Linked DNA regions of Homo sapiens: regions 1, 3, 4 and 5 are each linked to region 2. Evidence: promoter capture Hi-C in 16 types of primary human blood cells and fetal thymus (Javierre and others, 2016). All regions are on one chromosome and are shown on one strand. Each heading gives the region's core, a stretch centred on a gene start or on the middle of the fragment in contact. The rest is flanking DNA. Distances are from core to core; before and after follow the strand shown. Region 1 overlaps OGDH (oxoglutarate dehydrogenase). Region 2 holds the start of MYO1G (myosin IG). Region 3 has its middle 15 kb from the start of DDX56. Region 4 has its middle 28 kb from the start of ZMIZ2. Region 5 overlaps OGDH (oxoglutarate dehydrogenase).

Region 1 (2,791 bases), core at 172-2,671, 330 kb before region 2:
TTTTTACCCCTTCCCTCTTTTTTTTTCTTCTGTCCTTTTGTGTGTGTCCTTCCCTCTCATCGTTGGCCACTCATAGATACGAGGGCACCATGTAGCACAGCTGGACCCCCTGGGGATTTTGGATGCTGATCTGGACTCCTCCGTGCCCGCTGACATTATCTCATCCACAGACAAACTTGGTGAGGGTCTGAGAGCAGTCAGCTGCGTTGCTTGAGCTCCTCTCGCTGTGCCACGACCTGTGGTAGCCAGGATGTCCAGGCAGGAGGGAAAGGCTCTTAAGTTTCCTTTCATTCTGATCACTTGAAATTTATCGGTATTGTAGCCTTAGTGTGTTTTGGGCAAGTTATTTTTATCTTACTTTTTCAGCCAGATTGTCTTAAGTCTCAAAATTTGAAAATAAAATTTTGGACAGAAAGGTTTGTGGCACAGGGAAAAAGCTTGTCCACCTGGGGCAGGTGGATCAGAAGCACTTCAGAGTATAGCTCTTTTGGCTTCAGGTTTTCAAATGTCAGTGCAGCACTGCCTTCAGTGAGGCATGTCCATGAGGCCTTGCTCAGGAACTGCTGACACAGCCATCCTTTTCTGAAGCCCAGTGTGGCCTGCCCTTGACTGGAGGCCATGTCCCTTAGGGGACGAATTCTAGAGCAAGTTGTGCAGTTGGGTCTCCTGATTTGTAATTGCTGGTGATCACACTGAGGAAACTTTGGAAGGCATTCCCACAGCGTCAGGAGGTCAGGGCCTTTGGGAGGTGCATGTATGGAGCACACTGGGGTTTTGTCACGGTTGCCAGAAGATAGTCCCACCTACACCCCCTCCTCCTCATGAAGTGAGGTGGGTGTTGTGGCTGGGCTCTCACCTGCAGTTGCTTTGCAGAGTTAGTCTGCTTTATGTCACTGTGCTGCTAACCTGTACTAAAGAAATGATGATGTGACTAATTTTTAAATGGCCAGGGTGTTCACAATAGACACTGTGCATGCTGATGAAATTGATGATCACTTACTTGCCTAATACTCCTCTTGGGATGGGTACGAAATTAGCCTCCTCACAGGCACTTTTGGGGAATGGTACAGACAGTCTCTAAGGCTCTGCAGTGCCTGGATATCTTTATAGGCATTACTAAGTTATGTCTAGGGGATGAGGCATTAATCATCAAACATCATTGACTTTGGAATTGGCATTGATGGTTTGTAATTGTTTTTTTAATACCAGCCCTTTAGCGGATTTAGGAAGGGAGTTTAGAGAAATCCTCTTGAATTTTATTGATTAAGGCCAGTTCAGATGGTAGACTGGGCATGAGTTGAACCCTGCTTTTTCATTCCGTGGTGACAACTTTGTGCTCCCAAGAAGAGGGCCTCTCTTTGCAGTGTCCCCGGAGGTCTTGGAGCCTCTTCCCTACTGCTCACCCCTTAGTACAGCAAACCTCCCTGCTGGCACCCCCAGTCCCATCACAGCCTGTCTGCCCTGTGCCTCTCCAGCCCCCAGAGACTTCTAGACCTGTGGGATCCTCTTCAGGTGCTCAGAGCAGGCCAAACTCCCCAGCTGGTAGACTTGCTGCTCCCTGATGAAGAGCACAGGGACTTGCATCTGGAAGCCACCTCTTCAGAGGAAAACCTCCCTCTGCATTTAGGCAGGGTAGGAGAGCTGCGGAATGCTCATTTTCTGTTGTTTTTTTTTTTTTTTTTTTTTTGAGATGGGGTCTTGCTCTGTCACCCAGGCTGGAGTGCAGCAGCATAATCTCGGCTCACTGCAACCTCTGCCTCCCAGGTTCAAGCAGTTCTCCTGCCTCAGCCTCCTGAGTAGCTGGGACTACAGGAGCGCACCACCACACCCAGCTAATTTTTGTATTTTTAGTAGAAACGGGGTTTCACCATGTCGCCCACCTCAGCCTCCCAAAGTGCTGAGATTACTGGTGTGAGCCACCGCGCCTGGCTGGAATGCTCATTTTTTACAAGCAGCAAAACATTCGAACAGGAGAGGAGCAGATGAAGTGACTGACTTCTCCCTCTCCTTCCAGAACCTGCATTGTCCCAGCTCTTTGTCCCAACTGTGCACGTTAGTATAACCAGGGGAGCTCTAAAGCTCTCCTCTCTTCCCCTTCAGACTAATATCAAGAGGGGCCACACCTAGGTAAACCCAACCCAGCATAGTCTTTTAAGGGTGAGAAACCCTAAGCACTGTCAACATACGCACTAATTTCCCATCTCATTAGTGGCCGAGGCAGGGCCAGAATCTGGGAATCTCTTCCCAGGCCATCACAAGGTCTTACCATATATTTCACTCTGGAATAGTGTCCTCAGTATTTCTGTGAGGTTTGTGGTTCCAGATTCAGCAACAACATCATGGTGAGGGTGAGAGGACAAGAGGACTTTATAAACCAAGAAACTAAAACATACAGAAGTGGCCCTAAAGCTTCCTGAAATCCTTTGAGGAGGAAAACTTCTGACATCTCTGGCCAGGAGCCCTTTGGAACCACTGAGAGAGAGAGTCAGGGAGTAGTCTCCACGTTTCAAGAGGAAGGTGCATTTTAATCCTGTGGATTTGAAATAGTGTGACCTAAAAATCCCACTAGTCTTCAGGTACAAAAAATGGAAACCGCGTAAACTTGTTAAAACATTTGTATCTGTAGGAAAATTGGTCTCGAACTCTCACCCTTGATGTATGCAGGTCTTCAAGAAAACAGCAGGTCAGATGTGACCGCTAGACAGTTTGTAGAACACTTCAAGACCCGTCGTCTCATTTGAACCTCAGAGAGCCGGGACTCTGGAGCCACACTCCCTGCATTGGAATCCCA
Region 2 (2,890 bases), core at 137-2,636:
GCTGCCTCTCCCCTGGCACAGCCTCAGACTTCTTGACCCTTTCCTTCACAAACCTGGTCCCCAGTGGGGGTGGATGTCTGCCCTTCTCTTGACCTTTCTGCCCCTGGGAGGAGGACTGGCAGGCCTGCCCCTCAGACCCATCTCCCCTTGGTGTGTGGTACCCACCCTTCCCTGGATGGCCCTGTCTCCCGGCAGCCTGTCCTGGGTGGGCCTGTCCTGAGGTTCCTCTTTCTCCACCACCTCTGACATGGGTTTTCCTGGGCCTAGCTCCCATCCTCCTACAAGCTGGGGATGAGGGCACAAGTCACCCACGTCTCCAGGGCTCAGTGTTCTCCTCATCAAAATAGAGAGGACAATGTTTCATAAGCTCATTTTATAAGAATGAGGTAGAACAATGTGCACAAAGTGCTTAGCTCACGTCCTGGCTAGCCCTCCTCTTTGAGCCAGGCTCGTGGTCTCTTGCCTTCGGTGCTTAGTGGGGATCCTGGTCCCCAAGCTCTCCCCAGGGAGCTTCCGGAGTACACAGCGAGTGGCCTTCTGCCCCTCCCTGGGAGTCCTGGCAGGAAGCCCAGCTGCCTGTATGGCCACCCTACTGTGCCATGCCCCTACCTCCCGGGCTTCTCCCTGCCCTCCACCTGCCCTCCTTGATGGTAAATTGGGCTCCAATATCACTTCTACCAACTGTGTCCTGTGATACTCCATGTACCCCAGGAGAATGTCACCTCAACTTGGTGGGAATGTTTGGACCCTAGGGTGGAGCCTGACTGCTTCATCTCAGTGTCCCCAGGGCTCAGGCCAGGCCCCATGGATGAGATGCATCGAGGGAGCATCAACAACTGGCTGGGAAGTGGCTGGAGGGAGGTGCCCCTGGTCCCTCCTGGAAAGATAGTGCCTGGTATGTATCTGTCCAAGAAGTGTCATGCCCTGGCCCCGTCGGGCAGGAAAGAAGGGGCAGAAGATGCCTGGACTGTGTGGGAGGCAGGGGTGGGTTGAGGTGGTGGGCAGCTCCGGTGCTGACTTGCCAGCCCTGACAGGGACAGTTGCCTCCTTGTCTGTTCCTGTCCCCTGGGGCCGTGCTTTGAGGCACTCATTTCAGCCCCATCTGGTCTGGGTGGGTGTGTGCCACTGCCCCCTCCCTTGGACAGCAGCGTGCCTTCCTCTTTCCCTCAGGTCTCTGCGAGGACGCAAGGTGGGAGACCCTGGAGGAGGGGAGCCACTGCCTCCTGCCCTGGGCCTACCTGAGCTGCAGGTTCCTCATGAAGTCCTCCATGGTCACTTGGTCCAAAAGCACAAAGTCAGGTTTGCCATACTCAGGGCCTTCCTCGTCCTCCATCCTGCCGGCTGGAAACACCTTGCCTCACCTTCCTGTGCCTGCTGGAAGGACAGTGAAGGAGAGGGGGAGGGAAGGCTAGGGGAGGCCCCACCGCCCCCGCCCTGCCCCACCAGCCTCCTCCAGTGCTGGTGTAAAGTAGGAAGTGGGTTCTAGTCCTGGGAGGGGCTGCCCTCCGCACTTGCCACTCCTTCCCCCTCGAGGTGCTCTAAACCCTGCTTCCTGTCCCTGCGCCCCACAAGGAGGCTGTGCCTAACGGTCTGACCCGTTTGCACGCCAGGGGCGAGGGGCCGGATGCTGGGTCCTCCCCGCTTTGGAGGGTTCTTCGCTGGCCTCCTTCGGAAGCTCCCCTCCACCCACAAGCAGGAGACAAGACTCCGTGGGTTGGCTTCCAACCCTGGCAGCACGTTAGAGTCACTTGTGGGACTTTAAAGAAAGATTTTTTGACGTGATCTTGGTTACCTGGCTGTGTGTGTCTCTCAAGTCAGAACTGAACACTAGATGCAATATACTGTATGTACATTGTACATTAATACAAAAATGAAAAAGGATCCTAATGCCCAGGCCTTTGGGGTGGGGGCAACAGCCTTCTTTGCAGTGTGAAGGCCACACTGGGGTGTAGACGAGCAAAGCTTCTTGTGTGACCTGCCAAGGGCCAGTGGTCCTAGCACTGCAATTCCCCACCCCAGCCACGGGGGAGGGACAGAGGACCCCAGAGCATCCTCTGCATGGGGCTGGCCTTCAGTGGGACCCCTGTGCCCCTAACTGTCCTCTGCCTTGTACTTGTGTCCAGCCGATCCCCCATAAACTGCAGTGAGGACCAGGAACATGCCTGGAGCCCTGTGGCCTCATCTCAGAGCTGCTGTCCCTGCACTTTGAAGATGAGGCAGCGCATTTGGGGAGCGGCTGCATTTAGGGAGTGGCCAAAATCTCCAGACACTGCATTCCTGACACTTAGTGCTCCTGGAAGAAGTGGGAGGGGTGCAGTTCTCTTAGCTTCCAGGCAGACTGGAAAAAGTTCTTTTTCATCCCAGGACAGACTGGGGCAGGTCACACCCATCCTCTAGGAACACTGGGGCGATTCTCTCATCAAAGGTCAAATGGATGCAGTTCTCTCTCATCCTACAAATAGACTGGTGACATTTCTCTTTCACCCCTTCCCTCATACAGGGAGGTCAAAGGGCAGACTCCAGAATTCCCAAACTTCAGTCATTCATGTGCTGCCTTTGAGATTTGTTGTACTCATAAGCACTAGTTTAACTATTGTCTTTCAGTCATCCCATTTTTTAAACTTTGAAGTAATGGATAGGCAAGTTAAGTTTATTTTTTTCTCTCGAATACCTTAAAGCAAATGCATTCCTGATAAAACTGAAAGTACTTATTCAAGTACCTAATAAAACTGAGTCACGCACCACTGCAATAAGGGGCCACTGGCCTGAAAAATCCCCAAATTTGTAAGTGGGCAGCCTCTGGCTCCACCCTGGGCCAGACCTGGGGCTCCTCTTGGGCAAATTCAAAGTCAGTCCTTCGGAACTCTGACAAGTGTGGCCTCCTCCCCAC
Region 3 (2,700 bases), core at 76-2,575, 420 kb before region 2:
TTCCTTTGGGTATATACCCAGTAATGGGATTGCTGGGTCGAATGGTAGTTCTGCCTTTAGGTCTCTGAGGAATTGCCACGCTGCTTTCCACAATGGTTGACCTAATTTACACTCCCACCAACACTGTACAAGTGTTCCCTTTTCTCTATGACCTTGCCAGCATGTTATTTTTTCTTTTTTTTACTTTTTAATAATAGCCATTCTGGCTGATGTGAGATGGTATCTCATTGTGGTTTTGATTTCTGTTTCTTTAATGATCAGTGATATTGAGTTTTTTTTCAAATGTTTGTTGGTTGCATGTATGTCTTCTTTCGAAAAGTGTCTAGGAATGAGATACTGTCACCACTTCTATTCAACATAGTGTTAAAAGTTCTAACCAGAGCAATTTGGCAAAAATGAAATGAAAAGAAAAGAGAAAAGAGAGAAAGAGAGAGAGAGAAAGAGAGGGAGAGAGGGAGGGAGGGAAAAGGGAAGGGGAAGGGAAAGGGGAAGGGGAGGGAGGAAGGAAAAGAGTGTCCAAATTAGAAAAAAATTAAACTTATCTCTATTTGCAGATAGATTTTATATTCTAAAACAGTAAATACGCCACTGAAAATGTATTATAACTTGTCTGAGTGTGGTGGAGCATGCCTATAATCCCAGCACTTTGGGAGACTGAGGCAGGACAATCACTTGAGCCCAGGAGTTTAAGACCAGCCTGGGCAACAACGTGAGACCCCATCTCTACAAAAAATAAAATAATTAGCCAGGCATGCTGGCATGCCTGTAGTCCCAGCTATTCAGGAGGCTGAGGCAGGAGGACTGTTTGAGTCCTGGCAATGGAGACTGCAGTGAGCTATAACCGTGCCACTGCACTCCAGCCTAGACAACAGGGTGAGACCCTATCTTGAAAATTTTTTTTAATAAAAAAAATTACTAGAACTAATAAATGAACTTGGCAAAATTATAGGATACAAAATCAATACACAAAAATCAGATGCATTTCCTTCCTTCCTTTCCTTTCCCTCCCTCCCTCCCTCTCTCTCTCTCTCTCTTTTTCTTTCTTTTCTTCTTTCTTTCTTCCTATCTGTCTTTTTTCTTTTTGAGACAGGGTCTCACTTTTTCACCCAGGCTGGAGTGCAGTGACACGATCATCACTAACTGCAGCCTTGACCTCCCAGGCTCAAGCAGTTCTCCCACCGTAGCCTTCGGAGTAGCTAGGAGGGACTACAGGTGCTCATCACCATGCCTAGCTAATCTTCCCCCTCCCTCCTTCTCCTCCCCCCTCCCCCCTCCCCCCTCCCCTCCCCTCCCCTCTCCTTTCCTTTCCTTGACAGGGTCTTGATCTGTCGCCCAGGCTGGAGTGCAATGGCGTGACTCAGCTCACTGCAACTTACGCCTCCCCAGTTCTAAGTGATTCCCTTGCCTCAGCCTCCCGAGTAAGTAGAATTACAGGTGTGCCACCATGCCCAGCTAATTTTATATTTTTAGTAGAGACAGGGTTTCACCATGTTGGCCAGGCTGGTCTCGAACTCCTGACCTCAGGTGATCCACCCGCCTTAGCCTCCCAAAGTGCTGGGATTACAGGCGTGAGCCACTGCACCCAGCCCCTGGCTAATTTTTTTAATTTTTATTTTTAGAGATGGCATTTCACTGTGTTGCCCAGGCTGGTCTTGAACTCCTGGCCTCAAGTGATCCTCACTCTTCAGCCTCCTGAATTGCTGGGATTATAAGTGAGGGCCACCATGCCTGACTTTAGCACCACTTATCTTGACACATGAAAAAGATAAACCATTCTGTTCCCACTGTTCCTGCCATCTGGTGGTCTCTTACTTGCAGCTGTATACACTCCTAACTGATGTACCTGTAATTCCCTGCTGTCCACCACCTGACTATTAGCACCCCTTCTCCTACTGTTGCCCCACAGCAGAGTCCTCAACCTCAACACTACGGACATTTTCAACCACAGAACTCTCTTGTGGGGGCTGCCTTGTACATTGCATGATTTTAACAGTATCCCCGGCCTCTTCCCACCTAAAGCCAGTAGCATCCATTGCCCAGATATGATAACCTAAAATGTTTCTTGGCTGGCACAGTGGCTCACACCTGTAATCCCAGCACTTTGGGAGGCTGAGGCGGGCAGATCACTTGAGGTTAGGAGTTCATGACCAGCCTGGCCAACATGGTGAAACCCCATCTCCTAAAAATACAAAGATTAGCTGGGTGTGGTGGCACATGCCTGTAGTCCCAACTACTTGGCAGGCTGAGGCAGGAGAATCACTTGAACCCGGGAGGTGGATGGAGGTTGTAGTGAGCCAAGAACACACCACTGCACTCCAGCCTGGGCAACGGAGCAAGACTCTGTCTCAAAAAAAAAAAAACAACAATATTTCTATACTTTCCCAAAAGCCCCACTGGGGCAAATCTGGCCAAGAACCACCACCCTGCAGGAAGCCTGTGCTAAGCCAACTAATCTGCTCCCTCCACCCAGCTCTGCTATAACCAAGCCAAGCCTGTCTCTCAGGCTTCTCCGGGCCTTCCCAACGCCTGCGCATACAATCTCCTTGGCAGTGAGGATTTCTACCACCACCCAGGCCTGAGTGGTCTCTCCCTCCTCTGGCCATGATAGCAGGGGTTGGCTGTCTCCCTTGGCACTTGGCCTAACCATCACTGCATTCATGCATTTTGCTTCTAAAAGCTGAGGTCCTGGTTCCCGGGGCG
Region 4 (2,869 bases), core at 262-2,761, 260 kb before region 2:
GTCTTGCTCTGTTGCCCAGGCTGGAGTGCAGTGGCATGATCTGCAACCTCTACCTCCTGGGTTCAAGCAATTCTCTGCCTCTGCCTCCCGAGTAGCTGGGATTACAGGCACCTACCACCATGCCCAGCTAATTTTTTTGTTTTTTGGTTTTTGGGGTTTTTTTTGAGATGGAGTCTCACTCTGTCACCCAGGATGGAGTGCAGTGGTGTAATTTTGGCTCACTGTAACCTCCGTTTCCTGGGTTCAAGCAATTCTCCTGCCTCAGCCTCCTGAGTAGCTGGGATTACAGGGGTGTGCCACTGTGCCCAGCTAATTTTTGTATTTTTAGTAGAGACGGGGTTTCATCATGTTGTCCAGGTGGGTCTTGAACTCCTGACCTCGTGATCTGCCCGCCTTGGCCTCCCAAAGTGCTGGGATTACAGGCGTGAGCCACCACACCTGGCCATTTTTTTGTATTTTTAATAGAGACGGGGTTTCACCATCTTGGCCAGGCTAGTCTTGAACTCCTGACCTTGTGATCCACCCACCTCAGCCTCCCAAAGTGCTGGAATTACAGGTGTGAGCCACTGCACCTGGCCTAAAATAACCAGTTTCTCCAATCGTGTCCTGTTGCAAAAACAGACTCTTTTTTTGGGGGGGTGCGGGGACAGAGTTTTGCTCTTGTCACCAGGGTGGAGTGCAATGGCATGATCTCAGCTTACTGCAACCTCCGCCTCCCAGGTTCAAGCAATTCTGCCGCCTCAGCCTCCCGAGTAGCTGGGACAGCATACAGGTGCCCAGCACCATGCCTGACTCATTTTTGTATTTTTAGTGGAGACAAGGTTTCACCATGTTGCCCAGGGTGGTCTTGAACTCCTGACTTTGGGTGATCCACCTACCTCGGCTTCCCAAAGTCCCGGGATTACAGGCGTGAGGCACTGCGCCTGGCTAAAAACAGATTCTTATTGCACTTATGCCAATAACTACATCACCATAAGTTAAGAATACTCACAACTAGTTTCCAAATTCTGGAGAAACCAGGTAGAGAGAAACAAATATGCTCTAAATTTTGTTCACTTTACTCAATTGTTAAAAGCTGTAAATAGCTAAAAAGAAATTTTTTCTTAACTCTGAAAAACAAAGCAAAGGATTAGTAACATTTTAAGCAAATGTTAAAAAAGATTACTTCAGGCTTCTATTAGTTTATTACATGCAGTTAACTCCTGTTTGATATTCATGAACATTTCAGCTCTTCATGAGAGTCCTGAAAGTATTTTCCTCTACTCTAATGTCACAATCTCAAAAGTTATCAGAAACCTGCGTTTAAGAACATCTGTTAGAGTTCTATAGTTGATTATAAACCACCTTCTAAAGAGGACCAAAACAAGACAACAATTATTTATGGATGACAAAATGTCTTAGGACGGCCACAGTCAACAACACAATTGACAAAGAAATTTGGTTACCTCTGTGGAATACAATGACTTTATGTAACAATTATAATTATTAATAACATATACTAAGTCATATCTGAATTATGAGTTTCCCATTATTTTGGAACACATACCAAGAACATATTTATAAAAATACAGCCTCAAGAAAGCCAAATACCATTTCAATTTGACAATGTTTCCTGTATGATTTTTGTACCAAATAAGACAAACTTTCACCTTTACATTAGTGTATTATTAATGTTAAACCCAATTCTCAATAAAACCTTATAGACATATCTACCCAACGTCAATGTTTAACCATAAGGTAAGATTCTCATAAACCTTTTATAACCCTTTACAAATTTTTGTTAAAGAGCATATTATAAGCAGGTTTTTGCTTTAAGAAAAACATATTTTGCTTTTATTCCAATGTTTAATTTACAGAAAAACTGAATAATATCCCCTTAACTTTAGCCAATATATTCACGCACAGAATTTTTTTTTTTTTTAGACAGAGTCTCACTCTGTCATCCAGGCTAAAGTGCAGTGGCATGATCTTGGCTTACTACAACCTCCACCTCCTAGGTTCAAGTGATTCTCATGTCTCAGCCCCCTGAGTAGCTGGGATTACAGGCTCATAGCACCATGCCCAGCTAATGTTTTTTAATTTTTAGTAGAGACTGGGTTTTGCCATGTTGGCCAGGCTGGTCTTGAACTCCTGACCTCAAGTGATCCACCCGACTCAGCCTCCTCCCAAAATGCTGGGATTACAGGCGTGAGCCACCATGTCTGGCCCATACACTGAATTTTTTTAACAAGATTATTATTTTTTTCTGTTTTTTTTTTTTTTTTCCAAGATGGAGTCTCGCTCTGTTGCCCAGGCTGGAGTGCAGTGGCACAATCTTGGCTCACTGCAATCTCCACTTCCCAGGTTCAAGCAATTCTCCTGCCTCAGCCTCCTGTGTAGCTGGGACTACAGGCGTGTGCCACCATGCACAGCTAATTTTTTTTGTATTTTTAGTATAGATGGGGTTTCACCATGTTGTCCAGGCTGGTCTCGAACTCCCAACCTCAAGTGATCCACCTGCCTTTGCCTCCCAAAGTGGTGGGATTACGGGAGTGAGCCACCATGCCCAGTCTACAGGATTAATTTTTTACAAACCTTCCACAATTTGCTTAAACCTTCAGCTTTATTCCATCTAACTTAATACAATCATTTAACCCATTAATCTAGTCAAAAAAATGTACATTCCCATGACTTCTTATAATCTTTTACCAAAAACACATTTCACTTTTTTACACACCTTGCATGTAAAATTGTTTCTTCAGTAGTCTCAATTACATGTTACAGTGTTAACTCTTAGTGACTTTTACTTTTACTGCCAACCTTTGTAAGTTCGGGATTTTAATGATGTAGTAGGTGTAGAGCCTAGGACTCAGACAGAAGTCCAGATAAG
Region 5 (2,700 bases), core at 113-2,612, 350 kb before region 2:
CACACACACACACCCCTACACACACACACACACACACACACACCCCTACACACACACACACACACACACACCCCTACACCTGCAGATTATATCTAGAATAAAACTGAGCCCTGAGGTTTCAGAATCAAGGACTATTATGTGCCCAGGCCTATTCTTTTGCCTTCCTTTTCTCAAACATAACCTTTTCTTGGAACCAACCAAGTTGTTTTCAGTGATGTTAGGATTTGGAGTCAGTAGCTCCTAAATGACAGTGCCTAGTGTCTGAAAGGTAAAGAGCACCTGGCTGAGACTGCATGTCCTTGTGAAGGTTTGGTCCTCAGTGATTCATGGGTAAAAGGTGCACTCTGTGAGCAGTGTGGCCACAGTGCTGTGGACACTGGGCCTGTTGCCATCATAGCTGCTCCTGCTGGAAGCTTTTGAAGATGGTTTTTGTGGGGGCATGGTGGCTTTATGTCTTTATGCCTGTTTCTGTTGCTGGGAGTCTCCAGGGGGCACAGTGTGGGAATCACATGCATGCTCTGCCCCTCCCTGCTTGTAGAGGGGAGGGGACAGGATGGTTAAAAGTGGGCGTGCCCTCCAGCAATCCCGGTTGTCATCCAGCACGGACTTCATCACTCCTCTGCCATCCCAGACGGCAAGGTGGGTCCTCTTTAAGTTGAATTGGGCCCAGTATGTGGTGTGTGCATGTTTTTTGTTTGTTTGTTTTTTTGTTTTGTTTTGTTTTTGAGATGGAGTCTCACTCTGTCGCTCAGACTGGAGTGCAGTGGTGCAATCTCAGCTCACTGCAACCTCCACCTCCGAGGCTCAAGCGATTCTCCTGCCTCAGCCTCCTGAGTAGCTGGGATTACAGGCCTGTGCCACCACGCCCGGCTAATTTTTGTATTTTTAGTAGAGACGGGGTTTCACCATGTTAGTCGGGCTGGTCTTGAACTCCTGGCCTCGTGATCCGCCTGCCTTGGCCTCCCAGAGTGCTGGGATTACAGGCGTGAGCCACGGCGCCTGGCCATGTGCATGTTTTTCAAGGGAGATAATCCATAACTTCTGTCCAAATTTCAAAGCATCTGTCACCCATGAAAGTTTAGGATCCATAGCCTTAGAGGCATTTCACTTTATTTGTGCTCTTATTTTAGATCACATAGTTTAAATAGACATAATAATAGTTTAAATAGAGATAATAAAATTAGAAGTGCTGTAGGATTTAGATAGATCATCTATCTCATCTTCTGTTTAAACATCAGAAATGTCCTGAGGTCGGATTCCGTACTTATTTTCAGAGAGCTTATGGGGGGCTGCAAGGACTAAACTCATATAGCAGAAAAGGAACAAACTCAGCATCTTCCTCTCCTGCCCTTTGGCACTACTTTCCCATTGTTGTTTTTATTTTTATTTATTTTATTTATTTTTTTGAGATGGAGTCTCACTCTGTCACCCAGGCTGCAGTGCAGTGAGGTGATCTCAGCTCACTGCAACCTCCACCTCCTGGTTCAAGTGATTCTCGTGCCTCAGCCTCCCGAGTAGCCAGGATTACAGATACGCGCCACCACGCCTGGCTAATTTTTGTATTTTTAGTAGAGACGGGGTTTCACCATGTTGGCCAGGCTGGTCTCAAACTCCTGACCTCAATCAGTCTGCCCACCTCAGCCTCCCAAAGTGCTGGGATTACAGGCGTGAGCCACTGCACCCAGCCCCATTGTTATTTTTAAATCTGTGTTTTATAGTGTTTCCAAGCATACATAACAGTAGAGAGAAGAGTAGATGATAAGCCTAATGAGGAGACTGGTCACGCAGCTTCAACAGCTGTCTTAAAAATCTATTCCCTACCCCAGTGACTTTTTTATTTGTTGGTTTATTTGGGGTTTGAGGAGAGTAGACACTGGAGTATTTTAAGGCAAATTCCAGACCTGTGTCATTTCTGGCATAAATGCATCAGTGTAACTAACTGTTAAGTAATTGTTTTCATAACCACACCCAATAAAATTAACAGGCTAATTCTCTAATAGAATTTTTTCTCAGTCCATGTTTAAATATTTACTCTTCTCTTAAAGCTGCCCTTTTACATTTTGTTTTGTTTTGTTTTTTAATTTTTATTTTACTTTTTTTTACATTTGGTTTTACACTTTATAATTGGTCGTTGTATTCCTTATTTTTAATTTTATTTATTTTTTAATTAAAAACTTTTTTTTAATGTAAGTAGGAGCCATGCCTGTAATCCTGATACTTTGGGAGGCTGAGGCAGGAGGATTGCTTGAGTCCAGGAGTTTGGGACCAGCCTGGACAAGGCAAGGCCTTGTCTCTATTAAAAATAAAATAGAAAGCTTTTTAAAAAAATAAAAAAATGTAAATAGAGATGGAGTCTCTTTATGTTGTCCAGACTGGTCTTGAACTCCTGGGCTCAAGCAATCCTCCCAGCTTGGCCTCCCAAAGTGCTGGGATTACAGATGTGAGCCACCACACCCAGCCTCTTAAAAAAAACTTCTATTCTTAAAATGCTTAACTGATGTGAAAATTATATTTGTGGTAAAATATTTTAGCAAATCAGAGCTGCAAGTACCTTTTTTACCCTAAGTCCACTCCCCAGAACAGAATCCGGTTAACTAGCTGACCTGGGTCTGTCTCTGTGGTGGGCCCATCTGCCATCTCCCTTTTGTTCCTACCTTTGGTCCTGTCCTAGACTTTCGTCTCTGTTCTAGTCTGGCATTT

The links. Contacts are between HindIII fragments. The CHiCAGO score rates a contact against its expected background, and 5 or more counts as called.
Region 1: a contact is called between a fragment that was not itself captured here and the fragment with the promoter of MYO1G in region 2, in 4 of 17 cell types (total CD8 T cells, monocytes, total B cells and 1 more). The highest score is 7.6, in total CD8 T cells.
Region 3: a fragment that was not itself captured here is called in contact with the fragment with the promoter of MYO1G in region 2 in 6 of 17 cell types (neutrophils, naive B cells, total CD4 T cells and 3 more); the score reaches 7.0 in neutrophils.
Region 4: a fragment that was not itself captured here is called in contact with the fragment with the promoter of MYO1G in region 2 in 1 of 17 cell types (activated CD4 T cells); the score reaches 5.3 in activated CD4 T cells.
Region 5: a fragment that was not itself captured here is called in contact with the fragment with the promoter of MYO1G in region 2 in 2 of 17 cell types (monocytes and total B cells); the score reaches 5.8 in monocytes.

What each region holds. Positions count from the first base shown.
Region 1 is chr7:44,647,581-44,650,371 of GRCh38, forward strand. It overlaps OGDH (oxoglutarate dehydrogenase), which reads left to right. Exons shown (of 23, transcript NM_002541.4): 4 at 77-179. Among named protein-coding and RNA genes, the nearest start is that of OGDH, 42 kb to the left of the region's middle. The HindIII fragment of the contact is 1,972 bases long and covers 436-2,407 here.
Region 2 is chr7:44,977,629-44,980,518 of GRCh38, forward strand. It overlaps MYO1G (myosin IG), which reads right to left and starts at 1,387. Exons shown (of 22, transcript NM_033054.3): 1 at 1,239-1,387. The coding sequence starts at 1,333. RefSeq lists a silencer at 1,330-1,419 and enhancers at 1,620-1,689, 1,720-1,769. The HindIII fragment of the contact is 4,854 bases long and covers 1-1,960 here.
Region 3 is chr7:44,557,197-44,559,896 of GRCh38, forward strand. No RefSeq gene overlaps it. Among named protein-coding and RNA genes, the nearest start is that of DDX56, 15 kb to the right of the region's middle. The HindIII fragment of the contact is 4,749 bases long and covers 1-2,700 here.
Region 4 is chr7:44,719,438-44,722,306 of GRCh38, forward strand. No RefSeq gene overlaps it. Among named protein-coding and RNA genes, the nearest start is that of ZMIZ2, 28 kb to the right of the region's middle. The HindIII fragment of the contact is 5,346 bases long and covers 1-2,869 here.
Region 5 is chr7:44,626,290-44,628,989 of GRCh38, forward strand. The region is part of intron 2 of OGDH (oxoglutarate dehydrogenase); the gene reads left to right. Among named protein-coding and RNA genes, the nearest start is that of OGDH, 21 kb to the left of the region's middle. The HindIII fragment of the contact is 1,902 bases long and covers 412-2,313 here.